Regions from separate parts of the Homo sapiens genome. Here regions 2, 3, 4 and 5 are each linked to region 1. The links are contacts of gene promoters, found by promoter capture Hi-C in blood cells and fetal thymus (Javierre and others, 2016). All regions are on one chromosome and are shown on one strand. The core of a region is centred on a gene start or on the middle of the fragment in contact, and the rest is flanking DNA. Distances in the headings are between cores, read along the strand shown. Region 1 holds the start of LRRC8D (leucine rich repeat containing 8 VRAC subunit D). Region 2 has its middle 55 kb from the start of LRRC8B. Region 3 has its middle 27 kb from the start of LRRC8B. Region 4 has its middle 9.0 kb from the start of LRRC8B. Region 5 overlaps LRRC8B (leucine rich repeat containing 8 VRAC subunit B).

Region 1 (2,750 bases), core at 184-2,683:
CACACCACTAGTTGTTAAGTTTTAAAAGACCTCTCATCTCTTAGATCAGCAAATCTGACACTGATTAGATCACTTACACACACTCCCTGCCCATACACCTCCTTCTTGGCAGTGTGTGGAACAGGAGTGGCTGCTGGCAAGGAGGGTCGGGGAAGGAAAGTGAGAGCAAAAGGGCCGAGGGCTCAGAATCTGGTGGCATCTTGTAACGGGTCTCGGGCAGTCCCTTGAGTGTATTCTGGACCTCTCTGTTCATGTTCCTGTTTGGGCTGCTCTTCTTCACGTCCAATGCCTGAGGGCCAAGTGCTCACCATCCAAGGGTCAATTCTATCAGCTCCTCTCTGAATCCTTTTCTGAAACCCTGGACAATCATTCTCTTTAATGTCTCACTGTCTCTGAACCGACACCTTCCTGAGTACCTGTAACATTTGTGCAGCATGCTTATTAAGAATATTTAGATGCTGGGTAAACGTTGATTGAACATTTGCTGACATGGAGAGATATTGGTAGAAGACAGATTAGACTTCCGATGGTTTACAGAAACACATGGATTCAGATAAAAGAAGATATGAAAGCACTGGGTTGAACCACATATTTTATTACAACCAAATAACTCCAAATATCCCGCCTTAATTTATTTATTGGCCCCTGCCTCTGCTCACCCACAAAAAAGACTGCAAATGAACCCCGATCCTACAACAACAACAACAAAAAACGGTGACATTATCGGGCTGCAAAACCCTCTTAGCATAGAATAATCTTTTCATCTGCCTCTTTCAGATGTAACATATTTTTGACGAAAAGAATGGGATGAAAACGGCGGGCTCAGATAAAAACAAGAACCGACTTTCCAATACAGCTTCAATAACAGACGGAACACATGAAGCTGAGAAACTCTCCATGCCAAGTAGTAGTTGTGTGTGCCCCAAAGCTCAGATAAGTACTTCTCCTTAGAGTTGGAAGGCACTTAAGTGACTTTTTAACGTAATTCAACTCCCCACCCCCAGCGCCAAGTCTTAATATCAGAGTTTTAGTCGACGGGACAGCCTCCTTCGCCCAGGACGGGTGAAGGCTCCTGACCATGCCTCGCAGCTAACTGGCAGCTGCGCCTGCCCGGCACCGAGCCCTGCCCAGGTGGACGCTTGCGAGAGCATTACGGCGATGGTTATGTAGGCTGCCGTTCTTCCCCTCCCAAGCACCTGCTCCGCATCTAGCAGTCGCTCGCCGCCAGTCTCCAACCCCGGGTCCCCTCCCTCGCCACACAGACCCCGTCCGGTCAGGCGCTGCAGGGCCACCGGAGAAAGCGCTCGCAATCACATGGAGGCCCGGGCCCGCCCCATTGGCTGCGGCCGGGCCAGTCGCGGCACTCGCCGGCTGCGGTTGGTCCCAGAGCTGCAGCGCCTGCACGGGCCCGGAGTCCATGTTACGCTTTGTCTAATTCCCCTCGTTACAGAGTCATGTGCTGCTGCTCCCGTCGCCGCTGCTGCCGCTGCCGCTGCCGCCGCCCGTGGTGCCCCGGCTCCTCCGCCGCGCTTCGAGGTGGCAGCCGCGGGCGGGGCCGCGGGAGCAGGGTCCAGGGTGCAGCGCGCCTTCGCCGCCCCGGCGCGTCCCGGTGCAGCCGCCGCCCGCCGCGGGTGATGCCGCCACCTCCGGCCTCAGCATAAGCCGTGGCTTGGCGGCCGAGCTGCACCCCAAGGTTGGTGCGCACCTCTCCCGGCAGGGGCCGGGGGCTGCGAGGGAAGGCGACGCGCAGGTGGAGCCGCGCCGAGCCGGAGCGCGCAACCCTGGCGCAGGCGCCGCGGCCCGAGCTGCGGTTGCGGCCGGGAACTCATTCGGGGACGTCCGGGGGTCGGGAGGAGGTGGCGGCGAGCGGAGTGGGCTCCCGTTTGCTGCCGCCAGGGCCTGGGAGATTGTTCCGCTTTCTGCAGTCTGAGCGTCGGCCGCTTCGGCCCCGGGCGGCCGGCCCTGCGGGAGGGGAGTGCGGCTTCCTGGCTCCTGAACCCCTCGCGCGCGCTCCCTTCTCTCACCTCCCTCCGCCCTATCGGAAAGGCGGGGAGAGCCGGTTTCGGCTCTGCTGGTTCCTCCCGGAGGTGGGTGTTTGGTGTCTGGCCTTGCTGGCCCGGCGTCCAAAGGTGAGCCCTTTAACTTCTCCAGAATCGCCTCCCCTCCGCTTCCTTCCTGTGCAGGGTGGGCTGCGCTGGGAGCCCGGCGGGCGGGGGCGGGGAGGTGAAGGCCCGCGCCCCGCCCCCCGCGCCTGTGGGAGGGAGCTGGGGGCCCGCAGGTGCACCCAGCCGTCCGCGGGCCGTCTCCGGGTTGGGTACCGGTATAATCCGCTTCTAGCTTGTTTGGAGGCGTGGGCTCTTGGGAGCGGGACTTCTGCTCAAATCCTGTCCAGGGGCTTGAAAAGGAGGAGAATTGGGGGTGGTTGCCGGGAGGACCAGCACCTCCAGTTACTGGAGGGTTGATAGGGGCCTTCTCCTTTCCGTCACCCTTTACTAGGGGGTATCCCTTGCAGATAAATGAGATTTTTTGATTTCTTAAAAAGCCAGCTGCAGTGAAGAAGAACTGCTGCAGGTCGAGGGGAAGAGAGGTAGGTCCTTGCTGGAGAGGGAGAGGTGGGCTGTGAGGTTCCAGGAGCACGCACTTGGGGTGTGTGTGGCCGAAAGTATGGAGGTAGGGTTGTGGGAAGGAAACAGCCGAGATGAGAGGGAGGGCGCACTCAGGATGTAGGCGGAGAGATGGGGAATAGGTAC
Region 2 (2,750 bases), core at 69-2,568, 350 kb before region 1:
TAATAGGAATGATTTAAATTCATATACATCCCCAAAGTTGCTTTTTCCTGATGAAGCCCTTGCCATGCACACATCCTGAAGTTGGAAGACAAAAGTTTAAGTCCTACTTCCACCATGCACTAGCTGAATGGTTAAACTCTGAGCATGCTTCCTTACTGATTGTATGAGTATAATGGTGATACCTAAAAGGTTTATTTTTTTATCAAATTCTGAAATGACTAATAAAACATTTTATGAATTATAAATATAAATTAGGACTGAATACTAATAAATGACAAAACAGACACGTTTGTTTCAAGTTCTAAAAGAAGTTATTGACATTAAAAAACAAAGAGAATACTCACATTGTACATTTCTCTGTGTTCTGTTACCATATTGAGAAAGCAAAGAAGAATATTTAGAACACTCAGTAAATGAAAGGCATGGTTTAACCTGGAATAACTGAATCTGTGAAATAATGAGGAGCTTCAAAAATTGTCTCCAGATTATTTCTCATGCTGACTCTAGCTGGAATATGTTAGTACAGTTTAGCAAAAAAAATTATGAATGCCCTGCCACATGAAGTTGACAGATAATGTTGTGTGTTAGAGAAACTATAAAGATGAATAAGGTAAAATTTCTGTCTTCAAGAGCAAAGAGTAATGAAGGTCTTAGTTATGCATTATCAGCTGGGATAGTTGGCTCCAAAATTATTTACCCCTTACCTCTCTCTCATTATCTCCCTCTCTCTTTCTCTCTCTCCCTCTCTCTCGTTATACATCTGCATATATTAAATCTATGCATGTATACATGAACAATTGAATATATGCTCATACATATTCTTAACAGCCTCTAGAATCATTCCTTGCAAAATTACATATTTTTGTCTCATTCCTTCTATTTTAGTAAAGGGCATCATCATCAACCTGGCTGTTTAAACTACAGGGAGCCTAGGAAAATACAAGTTAAAATAACTATTATGTTATAAATGTGCTTGAAATCATAAGGGAAGATAATAATAATAGTTCATAATAATTGAATGCTTATAGACCTTATATTGCCCATCTCATTGCAGCTTCAGAACAATGCTGATGGGGTGGTAACAAACCACCCCAAGCTATATATAATAGGTAACCGAAACACCTAGAAAACTGGTTCCCATACTATATTTCACATTGAGCTACAGGAGCAAAAGCCATGAATGTATAATCACTTGCTCAGTTTTTTAATCAAGTTGAAGCTAAATAACAACATCTTATTGTTTGCAGCTTTGTGGTGACTATAAATCTTTTGTTAATATAATGCCGGTAGTGATTTATTTTTGCTGTTTAAATTCATAAATTGCAGGATTCTAGGCAAACATCGCACTTACCCCTCAAGGGTAATATACCAAATTTTAAAAGGTTATGATAAAAATCCTGAGTCTTTCAAGAGATATGACTGAAAAACTGGGATACCTAAACAAATTATAAATAGAAAATGATTCATCTCGAAGTCTTTTTCAGTTTATTTAGTTTAAAACATCATAAATTAAATTTAGTGAAGCTGGAGAGTTTGAGAAAAAGAATAAGAAAAGACAAACAAAAATCAGAAATTGTTTTACAATAGCTGGAGACAGAGTGAGATTAATTTTTTTATTTTAATTCGTGCCAACCTGGGAAAGAGATGAATAAATGAGCTCCAAAACCTACCTTCATCCACAGAGTGGGCATTCATTTTTACCTTCTCCTCCACTAAAGTTAAACAAGAGCTACTTAGGTGAGCAGTATTTCCCTGGGCTGCATTCCAAATTCCAACCAACCTTCCATGGTCATCTGGTGAAATTAGAAATGGCCAGAATATAGACAAAACCAAAGACTAAGAAAGATTCCTGAATATTAAGAGACATTTTAAATGCACAAAATGTTTACTCCAAAAACCTCTGCAGAAATTCTGGAAATAAAAGCCTTCTGTCTGCCTCATATGTCACTCTATTTATCTTTAGAGCTGATGGTTGACTAGGATGGTTTGAGAGTCCTGTCTCCTCTAAGTCTCATGTATTGCTGCCAGTGCTACGAGGTCAACCCATGAGGACAATATTCCTCTCCAAGCATACATGAGTAACTGCAGTTCCCTAAACTTTTCTTCTCTAAAAAAGGTCTATTTGTATCAGAGTATTCAGGAAATATCTTGAAATTCTATTAAATGACAAGGAACCTCACATTCCAAAAATCTCTAGCTTTTTGACCCTTCCAAATCTATTTATGTATTAATCTAACAAACCTAAGTGATATAACAAATTTAAGAAATAATCAATGTATGCCCTAAGCTCTGAGCTAGAAAACAAATGTTAAAAGTAAAGAAAACATGGACACAGGGAGGGGAAAATTACACACTGGGGCCTGTTGGGGGGTGGGGGTCTAGGGCAGGGATATTATTAGGAGAAATATGTAATGTAGACGACGGATTGTTGGATGCAGCAAACCATCATGGCATGTGTATACCTATGTAACTAACCTGCACATTCTGCACATATATCCCAGAACTTAAGGTATAATAATAAAAAAAAAGAAAAAAATGAGACAATGAACTTTCTAAAAAATAAAGAAAAGCAAAGAAATTTGCCAACTATATAAATCTTTATCTGTAAAATTAATTATTTAGATAAGAATCTCAATCATTACAATCAGCACAAAAAGTGATTTTGCTGAATGGAGTTCTCTGATACAAAATGAAATAATAATATACTATATTTTTCTTAAATTCCAATTTGTTTTATCTTTAGTAGTTAA
Region 3 (2,750 bases), core at 107-2,606, 320 kb before region 1:
TGCGGCACTATTCACAATAGCAAAGACTTGGAACCAACCCAAATGTCCAACAATGATAGACTGGATTAAGAAAATGTGGCACATATACACCATGGAATACTATGCAGCCACAAAAAATGATGAGTTCATGTCCTTTGTAGGGACATGGATGAAATTGGAAATCATCATTCTCAGTAAACTATTGCAAGGACAAAAAACCAAACACTGCATGTTCTCACTCATAGGTGGGAACCGAACAATGAGAACACATGGACACAGGAAGGGGAACATCACACTCTGGGGACTGTTGTGGGGTGGGGGGAGGGGGGAGGGATGGCATTAGGAGATATACCTAATGCTAGATGACGAGTTGGTGGGTGCAGCACACCAGCATGGCATGTGTATACATATGTAACTAACCTGCACATTGTGCACATGTACCCTAAAACTTAAAGTATAATAATAATAATAAAAGAAAAAAGAAAAAATAATAAAAAGTAAAAAATAAATAGGTCAGGAATTGGTGAAAAAAAAAAAAGAACAGGGAACCAAAGCAAAACTGGACAAATGGGATCACATCGAGTTAAAAAGCTTCTGCACAGCAAAGTAAACAATCAACAAAGTGAAGAGCCAACTCAATGGGACAAAATATTTGCAAAGTATGCATCTGACAAGGGATTAATAAGCAGAATATATAAGGAGCTCAAACAACTCTGCTGGAAAAAATCCAATAATCTGATTTCAAAATGGGCAAAAGATCTAAATAGACCTTTCTCAAAATAAGATATACAAATGACAAACAGGCATATGAAAAGGTGCTCAACACCACTAATCATCAGAGAAATATAAATCAAAACTACAATGAGAGATAATGTCACCCAAGTTAAAATCGCTTTTATCCAAATGACAAGCAATAATGAATGCTGGTGAGAATGTGGAGTTGGTCAGAGTATAAATTAGTACAACTGCTACAAAGAACAGTTTGGAGGTTCCTCAAAAAACTAAAAATAGAGCTACCATATGATCCAGCAATCCCACTGCTGAGTATATACCCAAAAGAAAGAAAATAAGTATATTGAGGTGAGAGCTGCATTCTCTTATTTATTGCAGCACTATTTACAATAGCCAAGATTTGGAAGCTACCTCAGTGTCCATCAACAGAGAAATGGATAAAGAAAATGTGGTACATACACACAATGGAGTACTGTTAAACCATAAAAGAATGTGATTCTGTTATTTGCAACAACATGGATAAAACTGGAAGTCATTAGGTTAAGTGAAATAAGCCAGGGAGAAAAAGACAAACATTGTCTTTTCTAACTTACGTGTGGGAGCTAAAAATTAAAATAATTGAACTCATGGAGATAGAGAGTAGAACAATGGTTACTAGAGGCTGAGAAGGGTAGTGTGGGGGTGTAGGGGTGGAGGGTGGATGGTTAATGGGTACAAAAATATAGTTAGAGGGAATAAATAATATCTAGTATTTGATAGCACAACAGGGTACAATAATTTGTTGTACATTTTACAATAACTAAAAGAGTATAATTGGATTATTTGTAACACAAAGGATAAATGATTGAGGTGACAGATACCCCATTTATCCTGATGTGATTATTATGCATTGTATGCCTATATAAAAATATCTCATGTATCCCATAAATACATATACCTACTATGTACCTACAATTTTAAATTTTTTAAAAAAGAATACTTTCTGGAGGGTTAATGCATGGATCCACCATCTCACAGCCGCCTGAGACATTCTTTCTTCTTGTAAGTCCCTATTAAATATTTGTTTCTCTCTGAAAAAACAGATTTGTCCACCATTTTCTGTATTCTTCAGCTCCCTCACCTTTGGAAGTATGTTTGCATAGACCCTTCACCGCAGAACAGTCATTGCATAAAATCTAATATAGACTAATAAAAAAATAGATTTATAAAGGGCCCTGGGTCTAGCTCAACCCAGTTCCTGACCTCTATATTCTTCCCCACCCAGAATCACTGGATCTGTATCCAGGTTCACACCAGCCAGCTCAGTCCCTAGGCCTAGCTTGAGACTGCCCCATCCCCACATCATCTCAGAGCTCCACGTGGCGACCTTCATTCTTAATCCGACCCTGGCTCCAGGCCCCACTTCTGATAAGTGGGACTTCGCTGCATCACCAAGCTTTGGCATCTACCTCTGTGGCTTGCCTAAATATCCACCCCAGTACACGCATCCAGTTGCAGCTCCCTTTTAGCAGTGTACTGATGAGTCCTAGCCCCTCCTATGAGCCTATTATCATGGAAATAGCTGATATGCTCTTCTGAATCCCAATAATAAAGAGTAAACATGTATCAATATCTTATTAAGTTCCAGTCACTGTGTGAAGTATTGTATTATTTCAGTTTGTTCTTACAACAACCCTATGAAGTACATATTATTGCCTTTTACAAATGAGGAAATCGAGACACATACAGGTTATATAATTTTCCCAATATTAATTGCTTATGACTAGTAGAGACAAGACTTGAATAAGCTATGTTGTGGTTTTTAGTACAACTGCTAATTTAATGCATACACATTCTCCAGGGGGAAAAAGAATTAAACTAATTCAAGAAATGCCATTGAAAAACTTAAACCATGTATGCAGGAAGGCTAAATGCCCTTTAGAAAAAGGAAAGACATGTAACAACAAATGGCTTTACGTCTGTTGATACACAGGTGAGAAGAGCTGGAAAGAGATATAAAAAGCTTAAGTTGAATATGCAGACTTGGCAACTGGACAGTA
Region 4 (2,750 bases), core at 112-2,611, 310 kb before region 1:
AGCAGTTATCACACTTTCCCATCCCCACACACCTAGGCATACAAAATAAAAAAGCATTTATTTCATGTTAATTAACAGTTTATTGACCGCCCACTATCCCAAGGTACCATGTTAGGCTTTGGAGTATCAAAGGGGGGAAAAGACATACTCAAGAAATTTAGAGTCTAGTTAAGAAGCTTGCCTCAATTTCCTAATCACCTTTCTTCCATCAATCAAGGAAAGCATCTAGTAACTAATCATTCACTTCTCTAACCATACACATATATGTAGAAAAATGTATGGATTAATTGTCCTTGTTTGAAAACAGTAGGTTCAGGAGGTTGCTATAGTTTGAATGTTTGTTCCCCCAAAACTCATATTAAAATTTGATCTCTAATGTTGCAGGTGGGGTCTATTGGGAGGTGTTTGGTACATGGAGATGATTCCCTCATAAAGAGATTAATGCCTTCCTTGCGGCTGGGGAGGTAAATGAGTTCTCACTCTTACTAGTTCCTGCAAGAGCCAATTGTTATAAACAACCTAGCACCTCCCTCCCCTCTCTCTTGCCTCCTCTCTCACCATCTAATTTCTATATTCTGACTCCCCTTCACCTCTGTCATGAATGAAAGTAGCCTGAAGCCCTTACCAGAAGCTGAGCAGATGCTGGCACTATGCTCCCAGTACAGCCTGCAGAACTGTGAGTTAAAGAAACTCATGTTACCCAGCCTCCGGTGTTCCTTTATCAAAAAACAAATGGACTAAAACAAGGGCCTTAGAGACAAACTAATCAAAGCCTCTCATTTTAAAGATGAAAATTATAAATACAAAGCAGGTAAGTGACTTATTTGAGATTATTATTATAGCTAATACTAATATGGGACTTATTATGTTCCCAGAACTGCCTTAACCACATTATATATTTGAATGATCCTCACCACAATCAGTTCCTCAAGCAGCAAACTAAGGCACAGAGAAATTGAGTAACTTGACAAAGACCAAACAGTTCATAAGGACAAAGCCAAGATTTGAACCCAGTAGTTTTGCTTCAGAATCCAAGCTATGCTTAGGTAGCTATTTCTAAAGATAGGCATGAATTTTTGACACATGTTCATACACTGGCTTGCTATTTGATACTAATCATCATGGTTGTTTCCAGCATCTCCAAACCTAATATCTCATGATATTATGATACTTAAAAGTCACAAAACACACAAGTTGAAAAGAGTAGTGTGATTGCCAACGTGGATGAGGATGCTACCAGGAGGAGGAAATGAGGACATCCAAAGTCATGACAAATATATTTATAATAAGCTAACTTTGGCAAATATTGCCACTGGTGTATTATTCCTTTGTCATCCCTAATCACCCCCATGTACTCCCTCCTATCTCCAAACCCTGGTCTTCTATATGTGTTTTCAATCAAGTAGGAACAGGTTAAGCTGTAAAACCTAAAGTGGATGGAGTTGGGGTTAAATCCTGGGATGACTGGAATACCCAAGATAGAGAAAATCTGTGTTTCAGAAGTCTCAGACCTCATTTCATTTCATACATTCACTCATCAATGAATAAATATTTATTCTGTGCCCACTTGGTAAAAAGCACAGACCCAGTTACTGGAAATACACCAGTCCATGTGATGAATTTGGCCTTTTCCCTCCTCACACACACAGTGTCGCAGCATTCCTCCAGAGGAGGTAAGACATCTGCAGTTAAGCAAGTGTCATCTTCCAACCTCGTGGACCTCTGAATGGTGCCTGAGCTGCAGGAGGTTTAACAGAGTGACTCAGCAAGGCGAGGGACTGCTAATAGATTATTAGTCACTCTTAGGTATACAGGCCATGGGGTAAGAGAATGTTGTTTAGAAATGGCTATAATACATTATTTGAGTGATTTGTATGAACTACAAACTAGTTTATAAGTAAAAATTGCTCGCTTTGTTATTGTATTTTGTTAGAATGCACATATCCTTTTTGTCCTTGGGGACCCTGAATAGCAAAATATTATATCTGCTTATTGAATTGATAAACTAAGTAATTCCAGAAATTTTGGAAATTGAGTTCACTCAAAGATAGATATGAAACTGCAAAATTTCCACCACCTATATATCTATTTTCATCTTTTAGTATGAGTCCCCACTTCTTTCCTTGTAATCAAGCTACCATAACTTTCCCACCTACACTGAGGTCTTTGTCAGCCACCAAAATCTGTTCTGCTTACTAAAACAACAGGCTTCCTCTGAAGCCCTAAGTTCTTTAATTCACTCAGCATGATGTTATTTCTAAAAATGTTTTTCCCACTTTAACCCAATCTCTCCTGTATCAAGATAATAACTAATTAATTATCGTTGTCCCTCAATTTTGTAATGAGGTTTAAAAAAACCCATTATTTTCATACCCTTTATCATAAGGTAGCCAGGCTACATTCAGCTATTACAAAGCACATTTGAGTTATAGGTGTAAATCTATATACCTTGTATATAGCTTGTGTTAGGGGATTTTACTGGACCCCCATATCTGCTCACATATCTGGCTACATATTTACTTGCATATTTTACGTTTTAAAAACTTCAAGCTTCTTATGAGCAAGTGTCCTGTTGCCTTTATATGCTCCAGAAACAGAAATTTGATGGAGACAAAGAAGTGGATAAAAAGAAGAACAAGCAGATAATTGGAAGGTGTGTTTGCATTTAGGTGTGTAAGATTCAGGGACAAGGCCAATGAGGCTGGTGTTTTTAAACAGACTGAAAGTCTGGTTAGGTACAGTCTATCGAG
Region 5 (2,750 bases), core at 118-2,617, 270 kb before region 1:
TTGTTTCCAAGGGAATTGGATTTTCAGATGAAATTTTAATAATGCTTCAGATAATTCCAATTGTGTTCTTTCATTTTACTCTGCTTTCACAATATGATCATATTTGGTTTCACTTCCTGGTTAGTGCACACAAGCCTGTTGCTGGGAAATATTTGAATAAAATGTTTATGAGAGAAGACTATTGTTTCAAAGTAGAGGAAGGCATTTTTGTTTGATTTAGACTTAGTTCATGTAGTAATTTTTATAGAAATAAAATTTCTGACATGTAAATTGGTTAAAAACACTCTTTAAAAATAATTTAAAAGACTTATTTCGCACTGAAATTAAGTTACCTTGTGGTGAAATCATCTCTTCTACAGAAGTGTTTGATTAGGTACCAGTTGTGCAACAAATGAAATGTTTGTCCATAATTAGAGTAATTGTAACTTGATTTTAAACAGAGGTTTGATTGCATGGTGAGTGTCATAATGCCAAATGATTTTTCCATTGATTCAGGGCCCAGTGTATTCTTAAGTTGATGTTTGATCTCAGCATGTTTAACCTGGCCCAGAATATATCTGGCACCCTTTTGTGTGTGTGTTGTAAATGACTGTTCTTCTGTGTTACAGCTTCATACAAAATCTTTGCCTATTCTAAAAGTGGTATTTTTACCATTAAGTATTTAATTCCACCAGAGTACTCAGGTATTACCTAGTCTAAAAAAGTACAAATCAAATTTATTTCTCTTTGGAAAAAGTCAGTTAAGAATTTCAGGAAACGTCTGCTTCCTTAAAATCTAATTACTTTGTCCATTTGCATCAGTTTACTGGCTAAATCTGAAAGTTTAATTTTTTAAAGCGTAACTATTTTTCTACTCAGAATTTTAATTTTGAAGTCCATTTATGTTTTATTTCTCAAGGTACCTAGATATATACCCTAATATAAAATTAGGCTTCCTGCTGTCAATCTTGAACTCTCTCCAATGAATTCTTTCTGATGCTTTCAAATTAATTTTCTTGATATATAATAGTATGTCCCTAAATGTATTTTTCTGTCATTCCCTTGCTCAGATACCACCAGTGACTTCCTACTGCTTATATCAAGCCTAAATTCCTCTCTCCTTGTAAAAAGATTTGAATATTCTAAAAGTGACATATTTACCCCCTAAAGCAATAATTTCTCAGGTGCCTGTTATGTTCTGGGCCTGAGTTAAATCTTGAAAATTTTTTAGTGTGGAATTTGAGACTTAATTAGCATTTGATCCTAATCACCTTTCTACTCTTAGCCCCATCATTTCTGTCTCATAAATTCCACTCCATCTATGCATCTGCTCACTAATTCATTAAATTGACCTTGGCTTTCTTTTGCCTTCTTTATTTGTTGTTCCATTCCTCCACATAAAATATTATGTGCCCTGTTATTAACCAACCCCTTTTACCCCTTATTCCTTCACCCCCTAACTATATAAATCTTACGCATCTTTCTTGGTCCAACTCATAAACCCTGTACAGTGACTATTGTTCTTCTAGCATGTATTACTTTAAGATGTAACTGTATAATTCATTTGTTTGATCTTTCTTGTACTTATGCCTTCTTTCACCAATGCATAAGCTCCTTTTGAGATTTAGGTCTGAGTGTGACACCTTTCGATTGCCTTCATTACCTGGGCCAGTTCTTTGCACCCAGCAGAAACTTCATCATGATTGTCGAGTACACCTAGTGTCAGAGCATGTGCAAGATGTAATATTTCCACTTGCTGTTGGTGACACAAGTTGGTGTTACATAAGGCCTTCTTCATTTCTACCTTTCTTCAACTGAGAGTCACAAAGTTGTTGCCTTCCTTAAATGGATAAGACTCTCCACACAATAAAAACAGATGGTATTGTCAAATATAAATAGGTAAATATTATTTTTTGTGCATGGATGAGAGAGAAAAGACAGGAAAAAAACTACACTTGTAGTTTTCTTGGCACAGTCTTTTTGCCCTTCAAATTTGGTTGCTAAGAAATAACCATAGATTCATCTGCTGTGTATAAAGGAGAAACTTAGAGACTCTGTGTGTTGTGCAGCTGATTTTGTCACTCAGCTATGACAGAGCCCCACCCTGATTTAGAAGTCATGTGTCAAACTTCCAGATGGGGAGTATATCTTTTGTCTCCTGGAAAACCATTGAAACTCTGTTTCCAGAGGGCCCATGTTTCTCCTCTTTGCTAAGACCAAGTGAAGCTGCAGAATCCTGCTGAGTTATGAAGCCCGAAGCCAGCCTAATGTGGAGAAATGACCTGTCACCTTTTTTGGAATGTAGGCATTCTATGTGATTCATATTAGTTATTTGTGCGTTATTTTAGAAGAACCTTACTCTATCACTTCAGAGTGCCCAGAGCTGCCCTAACTTATTCTGAATGCTATGGCTGAGCTAAATTCGTCTTCTCTGCTGATGGGGCTCAAATGGAGTCTTTAGTCTCTGCTAAAGGATTCAGGAAGCCTTTCATGTCATGTAGAATTTGGGATGTAAATTGAAGGTAAGAAGGTATGAAGATTGTAAGATATTTTTGCAGTTTTTGCTTCCAAACAAGGAGGTCTAATTAAAACTCTTGTATCTGTTCAATTAATATTTAGTAGCAGCTTCTACAAGCTAAGCCCTGGGGTGCATTGATAAGCATGATACATGTAGACCAGACCTCAGAGAGAAATAAACCTTTAATCAAACAATTACTTATAGGTTTGTGATAAATGTTATGAATGGAAGGGATAGAGAACTACAGGAGCAT

The links. Contacts are between HindIII fragments. The CHiCAGO score rates a contact against its expected background, and 5 or more counts as called.
Region 2: a contact is called between a fragment that was not itself captured here and the fragment with the promoter of LRRC8D in region 1, in 3 of 17 cell types (activated CD4 T cells, non-activated CD4 T cells and naive CD4 T cells). The highest score is 7.1, in activated CD4 T cells.
Region 3: a fragment that was not itself captured here is called in contact with the fragment with the promoter of LRRC8D in region 1 in 1 of 17 cell types (activated CD4 T cells); the score reaches 5.8 in activated CD4 T cells.
Region 4: a fragment that was not itself captured here is called in contact with the fragment with the promoter of LRRC8D in region 1 in 12 of 17 cell types (activated CD4 T cells, total B cells, non-activated CD4 T cells and 9 more); the score reaches 8.0 in activated CD4 T cells.
Region 5: a contact is called between a fragment that was not itself captured here and the fragment with the promoter of LRRC8D in region 1, in 5 of 17 cell types (monocytes, total B cells, M1 macrophages and 2 more). The highest score is 6.5, in monocytes.

Annotation. Positions count from the first base shown.
Region 1 is chr1:89,819,599-89,822,348 of GRCh38, forward strand. LRRC8D (leucine rich repeat containing 8 VRAC subunit D) reads left to right here and starts at 1,434. Exons shown (of 3, transcript NM_001134479.2): 1 at 1,434-1,693. It overlaps LRRC8D-DT (LRRC8D divergent transcript), which reads right to left and starts at 2,196. Exons shown (of 1, transcript NR_185885.1): 1 at 576-2,196. RefSeq lists silencers at 963-1,022, 1,463-1,812, 1,913-2,012, 2,103-2,312, 2,184-2,403. The HindIII fragment of the contact is 10,555 bases long and covers 1-2,750 here.
Region 2 is chr1:89,468,202-89,470,951 of GRCh38, forward strand. No RefSeq gene overlaps it. Among named protein-coding and RNA genes, the nearest start is that of LRRC8B, 55 kb to the right of the region's middle. The HindIII fragment of the contact is 4,080 bases long and covers 1-2,750 here.
Region 3 is chr1:89,496,684-89,499,433 of GRCh38, forward strand. No RefSeq gene overlaps it. Among named protein-coding and RNA genes, the nearest start is that of LRRC8B, 27 kb to the right of the region's middle. The HindIII fragment of the contact is 1,576 bases long and covers 569-2,144 here.
Region 4 is chr1:89,514,504-89,517,253 of GRCh38, forward strand. No RefSeq gene overlaps it. Among named protein-coding and RNA genes, the nearest start is that of LRRC8B, 9.0 kb to the right of the region's middle. The HindIII fragment of the contact is 2,374 bases long and covers 175-2,548 here.
Region 5 is chr1:89,552,891-89,555,640 of GRCh38, forward strand. All of the region lies in intron 1 of LRRC8B (leucine rich repeat containing 8 VRAC subunit B), which reads left to right. Among named protein-coding and RNA genes, the nearest start is that of LRRC8B, 29 kb to the left of the region's middle. The HindIII fragment of the contact is 2,997 bases long and covers 1-2,750 here.